4 separate regions of the Homo sapiens genome follow, and regions 2, 3 and 4 are each linked to region 1. The links are contacts of gene promoters, found by promoter capture Hi-C in human tissues and cell types (Jung and others, 2019). All regions are on one chromosome and are shown on one strand. Each heading gives the region's core, a stretch centred on a gene start or on the middle of the fragment in contact. The rest is flanking DNA. Distances are from core to core; before and after follow the strand shown. Region 1 holds the start of ARSD (arylsulfatase D). Region 2 holds the start of PRKX (protein kinase cAMP-dependent X-linked catalytic subunit). Region 3 overlaps PRKX (protein kinase cAMP-dependent X-linked catalytic subunit). Region 4 has its middle 15 kb from the start of SNORA48B.

Region 1 (2,961 bases), core at 224-2,723:
AAAATGTGTCAGGGGTGGTGGTGCACACCGGTAGTTCCACTTCCTTGGGAGGCGGTGACAGCCTCACCCTTGACAGCCTCAGCCTTGGAAAAAGAAAGTACTGTTAATCTTGAAGACTATGGAATCATTTTGTCCCTGACCAGTGGAAGAGGACCTAAGCAACCCCCTTTGAGGGAAAGTGGGTCACCTGGGCTGGAGGTAGGGATGTGATATTGTTTTGTAAGCTAGCATTTCCTACAAAATATGAATTTATACTTTGACCAGATCTTGCATTGTGAGGGGATGTGAGGGGATGAGGTAAGACATGAAGGGGCTTGAGAGAATCAGCGACTGGAGGTCAAGAGAGTTAGACAAAAACAAAGGCTCACTGCAGCCTCAACTCTCAGCCTTGATCTTTCTAGAGGTCAAAAGAGTTAAAAACAAAACAAACAAACAACAAAGGGAGAGCCAAAGATACAAAAAAAGCATTACGTGAGAGGGTAATGAGCAAAATAGCATCATTCAAAAACAAAAGGATGAGTCACAGAAAAGATGGGGAGGGGTCCAGGGCACAGTGATTAATCAAAAGGAGTAATTTCAACAGCAGTCTGATGAAAGAAACAAAGATAAAAATAGCAATTGGAATTAGCCGGGCGTGGTGGCACGCGCCTGTAGTCCCAGCTACTCGGGAGGCTGAGGCAGGAGAATCGCTTGAACCCAGGAGACGGAGGTTGCACTGAGCCGAGATCGCACCACTGCACTCCAGCCTGGGCGACAGAGTGAGTCCCTATCTCAAAATAATAATAATAATAGTAATAAAAGCAAAAAAAAAGGGCCCATCTAGCATTCCCCGTCCCAGACTTAGAGTACAAGTCCAGCATCCGGAACAGACATTTCAAACACCAAGCTTTGAGAAACTGAAATCGCAACTTGATTGCTCTGGGTAGGTCCTAAGACCCTTCCTGACAAAAAGAAAAGGGGCTCCCTGTGCTCAAGCCTAACTGGGTTTATTTTTTATTTTTATTTATTTATTTTTTGAGACGGAGTGTCACTCTGTCGCCCAGGCTGGAGTTGCAGTGGCGCGATCTCAGCTCACTGCAACCTCCACCTCCCGGGTTCAAGCAACTCTCCTGCTTCAGCCTCCCGAATAGCTGGGACTACAGACGTGAACTACCACACCCAGCTAATTTTTGTATTTTTAGTAGAGACGGGGTTTCACCAGGTTGGCCAGGCTGGTCTCGAACTCCTGACCTCAGGTGACCCACTCGTCTTGGCCTCCCAAACTGCTGGGATTCCAGGCGGGAGCCACCGCGCCCGGTCAATCGTAACTGGGTTTAATCAGCTCCTTAGCCCAGGCCTTCCCGTGTGACGACCTGGGAAAACCTGTTTCCACGCGCAGGTCCCGGAGGTCCCGAGAGCCAGGAGATGACGCGGATGAAGGAGGGGCGGGCGCCCGGCCCAGATCCCGCAGCTGAGAGGGCGGAAGCCTTGGCACTAGCGGCGCCCGGGCGCGGAGTGCGCAGGGCAAGGTCCTGCGCTCTGGGCCAGCGCTCGGCCATGCGATCCGCCGCGCGGAGGGGACGCGCCGCGCCCGCCGCCAGGTGCCTGGGACCCCGGGACGCGGCCCATACTAAGGCCTAGGGTGGGGGCCTGGGGAGGGGGTCGCGAGCACGGCGAGGGGCGCCCCGGGCGAGCCTGGGCCCCTGTAAAGGGCGTGGTTGTGTCCGGCGCCTTGTAGTCTCCAAAATGTAGCTGGAGGCGCGTTCTGTGCCCGGGAAAGACGCCAGACAGCAGAGCCCAGGGATGGGGGGCGACTGAGGGGACGAAGGGCGGGTGGAGGAGACCGAACTGAAGGGAAGGCGGAAGGGCAGGGAAAGAGAACAAAGGAGGAAGGGAAGGGAGGGCGGAGGAAGGCTGGCCGGGACCCGGAGGGAGCGGAAACTGGGCCGGTCACGCCCTGCTGGGTCCTCCGCCTTCCACGCCCAGCTACACCGCTGCCCGGATTCGGCCTTCAAAGGCTCCCTAAGACCCGCCCCGAACCGCGCCCCCCGCTCTGCCCCACTAAGACGCGCCCCGTCCCGCCCCAAGGCTCCATCCCCCGAAGCGTAGCCTTGCCCGCCCCACTTCCTAAGAGGCACCCCGTCCCGCCCCCAACCCCCCAGCTCGATGCCTTCCAGCACGGCCGTGTTCCCCGGGTCCACTAAGACGCTCCCTGTCCCTCCCCAACGCCCCGTCCTCCCGAGCACAGCTGTGACGCCCTCCCGATTTCTAAGAAGGCCCCTTCCCGCCCCCCGCCTCTTCGGCCCCACCATGACATGCTCCATCCCGCCCCCCGGCCCTTTGCCTTCCCAGCACGGCTGTGCCCTCCCCCTCATCCCACTAAGACGCGCCCCGTCCTTCCCCCAGACCCCATCCTCCCAAGCACGGCTGTGACTCCCCCAACACGCTCGGTAAGACACGCCCCTTTCCCCCCCGTGGGCTTCATTGGGCGCCCTCCCCCCAGCACCGCCGTGCCTACCCCGGTCACCCCCCAAGACTTCTCTGTCCCGTCCCCATCTCCACCACAAGCGCGGCCGTTACTTCCCTCTGGCCATCCCCCGGCGCCTTGGCCTTGTGCCGCCTCCATGTCCCCACCCTCTAGCACCGCCATGCCCCGCTGCACTTCCTCAGATGCGCCGGGTCCTGCATTCCCAGCTTCATTTGCGCCCCAGTGCCACCGGTAGAGGGTCGTGACTGCAAGTTGTCCAGGTTCTTGGCGTTTTGAACAAAGAATTGGACAAAACGCCCAGCAAAGAAAGAATGAAGCAACAAAAGAAGGAAAGCAGGGATTTATTGAAAACAAAAGGACACGTCACAGTGTGGGAGCCGACCAAGCAGCGGCTCAAGGGCCCGGGTACATAATCTTCTTGGGTCCAAATACCCCCTAGAAGTTTCCCATTGGCCACTTCATGCTCACCTCATGTAACTGAAGTGGTGGCCCGC
Region 2 (2,961 bases), core at 191-2,690, 780 kb before region 1:
AGGTGGAGGCTGGGCGAGGCTGGCAGCCAGGGGCCAGAAATCCAAAGCCTGAGCCAGGTTCAGACTTCCTGACTCCCCCTCCCCGTTAGCTGTGGAAGGATGGCTCGGCCTGGTCCCCCTAAAAATGTGTCCGTTCTGACTTAGAGGCCGCTTTGGCTCTCGGAAAGCCCCCCTGACCTGCGGACTGAGGGACTGGAGACCCCCTCCAATCGCAGAATCGCTGAGATCCCTCAAAACAAAGGCGTTTGCAGTTTGACCCCTTGCTGCTCAAACTGTGGTCGGCGAACCGGCAGCCTGGGCCGCCCTGGTCGCGGGTCAGGGGCGCAGCGTCCAGGCCGTGCCAGGCCCGCAAGTTAAGCACTGTCTGCATTTCCCTGGGGAAAGGGGTGACCAAATATCTAGCTATATTTGCATTTCAAATCCACACGGATATGGGTTTTAAATATAAGTATGTCCAACTATTGCCTGAGCCACACTTAAGCCAGGAAAAAAAAATCTTTGGGGTTTCTGAAATTGAAATGCCTCTGCACAATTCTTTATAGGGTTGTCGCCGGGGTGTTTGAAACAGTGACCAATCAAGTTTCACGCACTACATTTGGTCGGGCGATCTCTCAAATCTGTCTTTCCCTAGTTTTTTAAAGGAATGTTTATTTGTAAAGAATTCTAGATCCACAGGAAGCTGCAAAGAAACGCACAGGGTCGAGCCCGCCCTTCCCCGCCCCTTCCAAGTAGAAATCTAGAATCACCAGAGTCCTACAGCAAAACCAGGACGCTGAACTCATCCCGAAGACCCGGCAGCCCCTCTTGGGGATCCGCCCTCATTCCAAATTCTCTCAGGTCCCAAACAAGCACCCGCAGGAGTACTGAACTTTTTGGGGGGAGGGCAGAGGGGATCTGTATGCAGATTGCCAGCTGAGCAATCCTATTTTCTATGACTTAAAGCCAATCAGAGGCTGGGCGTGGTGGCTTATACCTGTAGTCCCAGCACTTTGGGAGAACGAGGCAGGCGGTTCACTTGTGCTCAGGAGTTCCAGACCAGCCTGGCCAACATGGTGAAACCCTGTCTCTACTGAGAAAATACAAAAATTAGCCGGGCTAATCCGAGCCCCTCTCTTCACCAAACGCCAGTTTCACTTTTTAGTTTTGAACTTCACTTCTGCTGAGCTACGCCCTCCCTGTCCCCGGGCCCCCTCGCCTCCCCATCTTCCGGGCTTGGGTGCAGCGACGCGGGTGGCCCGCCAGTGCGTCCCCGAGGAGAAGTCAGCCTGGGTCCCACCCCAGGGGTGCCCCGGGCGCGGAGGGGGCGTGGGCACCTCCCCAGCGCCGCACGCCCGGGTCTCCGGCTCCTGGGCTGGGTCGGGGCGGGGGCGGAGCGCGCGCGAAGGCGACGCCCCCAGCCCCGCGGCCGGGTTAGGGCGGGGAGAGGCGCGGTCACGCCCAGGCGGCTTCCGCCCGCCCCAACAGCGCGCACGCGGCTACCGAGCTGGAGGAGGCGGCGGGCGCGAGACCCGGAATGCGCAGGGCCCCCGCCTCGCCCCCCCCAGCCCGGGCCGCGGCCCCCGCCTTCCCCGCAGTCGTCCCGCACTCGGTGCCCGCCCCCCGAGGCCGGCGGCTGCTCCCACTCGGGGCCGTTGCTGCTTGTGCCGTGAGCGCCGCCCAGCCATTGTCCCCGTCGCTCCGTCAGCCGCGCCGGACCGCGCACCAGGAGGCGAGAGCGCGCATGGGGAGCCTCTGTTGATGCCGCCGCCGCGCCGCCCTCCGAGGCTGCGTCCCGGGAAGCCCGGCTCCCCGAGCGCTCCGGCCTGGCCCGGTGCCCCGGACCTGAGTGCGTCCCCATGGAGGCGCCCGGGCTGGCCCAGGCGGCCGCGGCGGAGAGCGACTCCCGCAAGGTGGCGGAGGAGACCCCCGACGGGGCGCCCGCGCTCTGCCCCAGCCCTGAGGCGCTGTCGCCGGAGCCGCCTGTGTACAGCCTGCAGGACTTTGACACGCTGGCCACCGTGGGTGAGTGAGTGCGGGCGGGGACTCGGCCCACAGGGGCGCGCGGCGTGGCCGGGACGTTGTAGTAGGACAAAGGGCCCTGGGTGCCGACCTCCTGGGGAGGGCCCTGACCCGCTACTTCGGCTCGGAGTCCCCGTGCGGGGCTGCACCTGCGCCCCGGGTCTTCCCGGGTGGAGCGCACTCCCCAGCCCCCCAGCCCAGGCAAGTACCCCCGACCGGCCGGGTGCCTAACCTGAAATGCCGACGGCTCCTCTCGGAGACCACCCTCCACCCCCAGCACACACAGCACTCTGGGGCCTGGGCCGTCCGACGTCACAAAACCTCCTGCGGGTCACCTCGCCTGGGGGACCTCGTGCTCCCTCCCTGGCAGCGGCCCCAGGGACACTGGCGCGGGGTGCGAAGACCCCTGCAGGCCTCCCCTAGGCCAGCCTCCCTGTGTGCCCAGAGGCAGGGAATGTACAGATTTCTCCAGGGGCTGCAGGAGCAGCTGGGCTGTGGGGGACAGGTGTCCCGGGGCGCTGTGGGGACGAGGACGGCAGCGCTGGGGACGGATCCTAACATGTCCTGACACCGCCTGTGCTCTTCGTCTTGTGCCTCTGAAATGGGTAATTCTTGTATCGGACGCTTTATCCGTTTCCTTTGTCCTCTGTCTTTGAACTTAACCCCGAATGGGCAGCTTGACAGAGAGGTTTCGAGTTCTCGGTGCTCTTGCATCCGGACACGCGCTGCTTTATGGAGCAGCCCTGAGTGGGTCAGAATATCCCAACTGAACGTGGGCGCTGGATTTAAACAGTTGTCATCGGCCCGCCTGTGCCACTTAGGGACTCCGTATGGCTAAGTGGGGTGTTGGCTGTCAAGAAAATAAATGGGAGAGTAGAGGGGGCTGTCCTGGGTGTGTTGGTGAGGCGTCGGCTCTCAGGCCCTCTAACTCCTGTTTGTCCTCATTTTGGAAAGGAGGAAGCT
Region 3 (2,961 bases), core at 134-2,633, 690 kb before region 1:
GCTACTTACCTTGGGGCATAGTTTATGCTGGGAAAGCCTAGACGCTTACACCGGGGTCATGGGTATTGGATTGTTTTGGGGGACTTCAATATATTATATTATTATATCATATTATGTATGTTATTATACATAATGTACTCTGTGTATTTTATGTGTACACACAGACACACATGATCATTTCTACTTCCATAAATATGCATCTTTTAGAACTCACCTAATCTCCTGGAAGTCTTCAACATCATCTCCAACTACCCATCCTAATTGAAGCAGCTTGCTGTTTTTTGTTGTCGTTGTTGTTGTTTGTTTTTGTTTTTTTTTGAGACTGACTCTACCTCTGTCACCCAGACTGGAGTGCAGTGGCTCAGTCTCAGCTCACTGCAACCTTCGCCTCCTGGGTTCAAGCGGTTCTTGTGCCTCAGCCTCCCAAGTAGCTGGGACCACAGTTGTGTGCCAGCATGCCCAGCGAATTTCTTTTTCTTTTTTTTTGTAGAGATGGGGTTTCACCATGTTGGCCAGGCTGGTCTCAAACTCCTCACGTCAAGTGATCCACCCGCCTCGGCCTCCCCACAGTGCTGGGATTACTGGTGTGAGCCAGTATGCCCAACCTCCCCACCTGCTGTACTTCTGACATGGTCTGTTATTTAAAAGGAAGATTATAAGTGAAGAAGCAGACTTAGGAGACTCATCCTAATGTGTGTGCTTATGGGAAAGCCAGCCTTTTAAAACAGGAATCCCATCAATAAGCAGACCCCCAGGACAGCGCGTGAGTGTTGATGTTGGTGAAAGCAGATGTCTTCTATTTTGCAGGGACAGCCTGACAGGCATGTTTACGTTAAGTGTCTGGATCCTCCCTGCAGGCACATATAAATTTCACCCTTTTCTACTCAGAGGTGTATTTTCTTTACAAAGATGTAATCAACCCCCTTCCCTTAGCTTCAGCCTTGCACGGGGCAACCCAGCCTTGCATAGGTGATTTAAGAGCCGGTGATGGTAGGAAATAAGCACTAGAAAGTGTTTTGCCAAAGTGGAAATTGAACTGCGGTCCTCATGTCAGATAGATCTTATCTCTGTTGCCATGCTGCGTTTGCTGATGTTGATATATAATCTGTGTACTTTTTTTTTTTTTGTCTCCTTCCCCAACATAGAGACCTCATTAAGAAACTGCTCGTGGTTGACAGAACAAGGCGATTAGGAAACATGAAGGTCAGTATTTGATCCCGTGGGTATTCAGTGGTACCCGATGTGCGTGTCTGCCGTCTAACACCCACATTGGCATGTGCAGGTATAAACCAAGGCTTAGCGGTCGTATTTAATCACTGCCCAAATTTCAAATCTGGTGTTTTATTTATTTTTTTAAATTTTACTTGAAACTGCCAGGAAAGATCTATCAAATCTCGGTTTCTGGGCCCACAACGTCAAACTGGGTCTACACCGTATCTCCCCTCCCCTCAAGCAAGGTTAATAGAGCAATAACAATGCATAAGTTATTACTCATTATTTTGTTTACTTATTTATTTTATTTTTTAAACAGTTTTACGGAGAGTGAATTCACACGCCATGCCATTTACCCATCTAAAATGTGCAATTCGGTGGCTTTTAGTATACACACGATTATGTACAGCCACCCCTGTGGTTAATCTTAGAACATCTTCATCAGTTCAAAAAAAGAAACCCTGCACCCTTCAGTTATCACTGTGCTATTCTTTCATCCTCTCTTGCCCTAAGCCAGCGGTCCCCGACCTTTTTGGCACCAGGGGCCAGTTTTGTGGAAGACAGTTTTTCCACAGACCGCACAACCTAAATCCCTTAGTTGCGCAGTTCACAATAGGGTGTGTGCTCCTATGAGAATCTAATGCCACTGCTGATCTGACAGGAGGCGGAGCTCAGGTGCTAATGCCAGCCATGGGGAGCAGCTGTCAGTACAGGTGAAGCTTCGCTCACCTGCCTGCTGCTCACCTCCTGGTGTGCGGCCCATTTTGGTTCCTCATAGGCCGTGGACCACTACCAGTTTGTGGCCCAGGGGCTGGGGACCCCTACCCTAAGCAGCCACTAATCTACTGACTTTCTCTGTAGGGTTCGGTGTTCTGGGCTCTGCTAAAAATGGAATTGTACAAAATGTAAGCTTTTGCCTCTGGCTTCTTTCTCTGAGCACGATGTCTTCAAGGTTCATCCAGGCTGTAGCCCGTGTCAGAGCTTCCTTCCTTTTCCTGACTGCATAGTATTCGATTGTGTGGGCAGACCTCGTTTTGTTTATCCATTCATCTATGGATGGACATCTGGGCTGTTTCCACCTTTTGGCTTTTGTGAATGGTTCTGCCATGGACATGAGAGTAGGTGTTTTGTGTGCGCAGGTGATGATTTTAAAAGTTGTGCATCAGGTATGATTTCCACAAACTTTTTGTGTGGAGGCAAGTATATAATTGACAAACAGACTATTCCTTAAGTAGTATCATACCTGATATGCGTGTTTTGACATCCCTGAATTTGACAGAATTCATGGACTTTTTGTTGGCCATTTCTAGCTCTGGACAACCTCAGAGGGACTTATACATGGAGGAACTTCCATATACGTCTTGACCCTGTAAATTACAGTCTGGAGAGACACAGTACACCGGGGTGTGAGGCTTGAACCACTTGGCTCTCTTGGGGCCCTCTGTGTGGTTTACGAGTCTCCAGTAGCTGCCATAAGAACTGACCACAAACTAGGGGCTTAAACAACAGGAATTTCTGCTTTCCCCATCCTGGAGACGAGGAGTCTGAGATCAAGGTGTCTCAGGCCTCCAGAGGCTCTAGGGGAGGATCATTCCTGCCTCTCCCAGCCCCTGGGGGCTCCGGGCATCCCTGGGCTTATGGCCGCATCACTCCAGTCTCTGTCTTTCTTCACGTGGCCTTCTCTGTGTCTGTGTCTCCTCTTCTGTCTCTCAGAAGGATGCCTGTCATTGGGTTTAGGGTCATCCTAAT
Region 4 (2,961 bases), core at 173-2,672, 620 kb before region 1:
CGAAGAGCTGATCATCAAAATACCTAGCACAGTTCATGAGGCTTTTTCCTCTAAAAAAGCATGAAATTCATCTTTTGAGGTACATTTGGCTTCCACCAATGTTGTTTTTGAGTGTTGACAAGCAAAAGTTAGATTTTTAGAGAAGGCTGGTGTTGTTGGTAGCAAAAGTAAAATCATAATGAAATTTTAAAAGATTTATTTCTTCAAGGCTTAGGTTCTTCATTTATTTATTTTTGAGACAGGGTCTCACTTTGTTGCCAGGCTGGAGTGCAGTGGCGCGAGCTCGGCTCACTGCAACCTCCGCCTCCCAGGTTCAAGTGATTCTCCTGCCCAATCTCCCCAGTAGCTGGGATTATAGGCACTCACCACCACACCCAGCTAATTTTTGTATTTTTAGTAGAGACAGGGTTTCACCATGTTGCCCAGGCTGGTCTCAAACTCCTGACCTCAAGTGATCCGCCTGCCTTGGCCTCCCAACGTGCTGGGATTACAGGTGTGAGCCACCACTCCTGGCCCCCAGGCTTAGGTTTAGTAAGCAAACAACAACTAAAAAAACAAGATAAAAAATGACATGGAAAGATAAGTTTATTTAGACAAGTCATTTAAAGCAAATCCGGGTTTAGAAGAAAATTTAGATTGCAAGTTTCCTGAGGGCAAAAAAAACCCTTCTTTTCATAGTTCTTTTTTATTTTTTATTTTATTTTTTATGAAAAAAATTAGAGATAGAGTCTTGCTATGTTGCCCAGGATGGTCTCGAACTGTTGGGCTCAAGCAATCCTCCTGCCTTGGCCTCCCAAAGTGCTAAGAGTACAGGTGTGAGCCACCACACCCAGCCTATGGTTCTTATATTTTATAAAGTATGTAATGTTTTCCTCATTTTTTGCATCTTTTCCTTTCTCCCTTCCTGTATCTTTTCTTCCTCAATATCACAATGAAAACATATTGTAAGGGCTGCATTGCCTGATGTATGAATTTCTAAACAGGGCACTTTGAACAAAGAGGATTATCTGTGGCATCAAAATTCAAGTCACCACTAGATCTTGTGATGGTCTAGTCCCATCGCATAAAGTGAAATCCTGCATTTCCAATCTAAAGCTTTCCAGTGCTTTCAGGTTGTGAAATTAAACAACTTGGGTACTTTTTAGATAGAAGCAAAATACAAATGGAAGTAGGGGGCTAAGGATTTCTCATATTTTTTGGTTTAAAAAATAATCTCCAGCCTGAGCAACGTAGTGAGACCCATCTCTAAATTTTTTTTTTTTAAATTAGCTGGGCATGGTGGCATGCGCCTGTGGTCCCAGCTACTTGGGAGGCTGAGGTAGAAGGATTGCTTGAGCCCAGGAGTTTGAGGCTGCAGTGAAGCTGTGATTGTGCAACAGAGTGAAACTCTCTCAAAAACAAACAACAGCAACAACAACATTTCAGTGACAATGATGGCCTTAGAGGCTGGGTACCTTAGAAATGATACATCTTCATGTGCATAGAAAGATCCCTTCCTTCCTTCCTTCCTTCCCTCCCTCCCTGCATCCCTCTTTTCCTTCCTACCTTCCTTCCTTCCTTCCTTCCCTCCCTCCCTGCCTCCCTCTTTTCCTTCCTTCCTTCCTTCCTTCCTTCCTTCCTTCCTTCCTTCCCTCCCTCCCTCCCTCTTTTCCTTCCTTCCTTCCTTCCTTTTACCTTTTCCTTTCCTTTTGGGGTCACACACTTAACAGCTAGTTTAATTTTGGAGGGTCTCAAGTTTGATCAGAAAAAGGCATGTTTATCCTTTAAAGAAGGCAACAAGAGTTTCTCTCTCTGTCTGACTTTACACCTCCACAATTTCACCAAGACAGAGATTTTTATTGGGTGAGCACATATACTTAAAAGAATTACTTGAGACAAAAATGAAGAACTTCATGGAGAGTTGAGGGTCTTGGAATGAGCAGAGTGACTCTTGGTGAACTCCACCTTTCCCATCTTCCAAAAAAAACCAAAAATCAATTCACTCTGAGATCTAATAATACCTCTGAATTGATCATCTACAGTAATCAAAGCATTCAGGCCATGAGAGCTGGTGTCTATGTTAGGGGTTCTGCATAGTAAACTGCAGTACACATTGAGAAAATATCATCGTCTCTAAACATTTGTTTCTCTGGGCTGATGAAAGAGTAAAGATGTCTGAAGAATAAAAAGGATGACTGTGTGGAAACATGCCCTGCCAACTTGATAAATTCACCAATGATCACAATTGAGTGTCTTATGTAATGAAAGTTGGCTCATTAAAGAATACCCATGTGCCCTCTGGGCATGCTTTGGATTGGCATCCACTTCTGTAAGCCAGGTTGTTTGAGAACAGATGAGTTAACTCTGCAACCAGAAGATTTAATGTGCGATTTTGCTCAGGGCTATTTCGCTGAGACACAGAAGATGGCAACAAGATCTATGCGATCTTTTGCCATGAGGGCAGCAAGTGGATGTGTCTCAGCAAATCTTTTAGAAGAATGCAGAACCATCTGACCAGGTTTCTGGAAATGTTCAGCTCCTCGTCCTGCCTGGAGAATCCCGTGTCTTGCAAGGCTGTTAGCAAGGAAGCACTCCCTCTCCTTGAGCTAAGGATGGCTTTTAGTGAAGGAAGGAAGGGAGGGAGGGAGGAATCTTTCTATGCACATGAAAATATATCCTTTCTAAGGTACCTAGCCTCTAAGGCCATCAGTGTCACTGCTTTTCGAAAACAAATAACATCACTGTCCAACTTATAAAACTCTTCTTCAATATAAATCTAGAACCTTCTGGAACATGTTGAGTGGAAAAGCCAAACAATGCAAATAAACTGACCACAAGCTCGTGCTTAAAATTGTAGTCCTCCTTTAAACATCAACATTGCTGTTCTTCCTTCTGGCTGCTGTGCTAGTTTTTTCAATTAGCAAACATGCTACTTATTATCTTTACTACTGTTGTTTTTCAGGAGAGAAGAGTTTAGGAAGA

The links. The method cuts DNA at HindIII sites, captures the fragments that hold promoters and counts their contacts. A contact is called where the count stands out against the background at its distance.
Region 2: a contact is called between the fragment with the promoter of PRKX here and the fragment with the promoter of ARSD in region 1, in 1 of the 25 tissues and cell types used here (small bowel).
Region 3: a contact is called between a fragment that was not itself captured here and the fragment with the promoter of ARSD in region 1, in 2 of the 25 tissues and cell types used here (IMR-90 fibroblasts and small bowel).
Region 4: a contact is called between a fragment that was not itself captured here and the fragment with the promoter of ARSD in region 1, in 1 of the 25 tissues and cell types used here (mesenchymal stem cells).

The regions. Positions count from the first base shown.
Region 1 is chrX:2,927,851-2,930,811 of GRCh38, reverse strand. It overlaps ARSD (arylsulfatase D), which reads left to right and starts at 1,473. Exons shown (of 10, transcript NM_001669.4): 1 at 1,473-1,580. The coding sequence starts at 1,537. RefSeq lists silencers at 1,456-1,805, 1,826-1,985. The HindIII fragment of the contact is 14,341 bases long and covers 1-2,961 here.
Region 2 is chrX:3,712,128-3,715,088 of GRCh38, reverse strand. PRKX (protein kinase cAMP-dependent X-linked catalytic subunit) reads left to right here and starts at 1,440. Exons shown (of 9, transcript NM_005044.5): 1 at 1,440-2,001. The coding sequence starts at 1,836. RefSeq lists enhancers at 1-175, 2,507-2,816 and silencers at 1,137-1,866, 1,887-2,016, 2,057-2,336. The HindIII fragment of the contact is 15,008 bases long and covers 1-2,961 here.
Region 3 is chrX:3,619,501-3,622,461 of GRCh38, reverse strand. PRKX (protein kinase cAMP-dependent X-linked catalytic subunit) reads left to right here. Exons shown (of 9, transcript NM_005044.5): 6 at 1,146-1,203. Among named protein-coding and RNA genes, the nearest start is that of PRKX-AS1, 39 kb to the left of the region's middle. The HindIII fragment of the contact is 4,454 bases long and covers 1-2,961 here.
Region 4 is chrX:3,545,534-3,548,494 of GRCh38, reverse strand. No RefSeq gene overlaps it. Among named protein-coding and RNA genes, the nearest start is that of SNORA48B, 15 kb to the right of the region's middle. The HindIII fragment of the contact is 5,478 bases long and covers 1-2,961 here.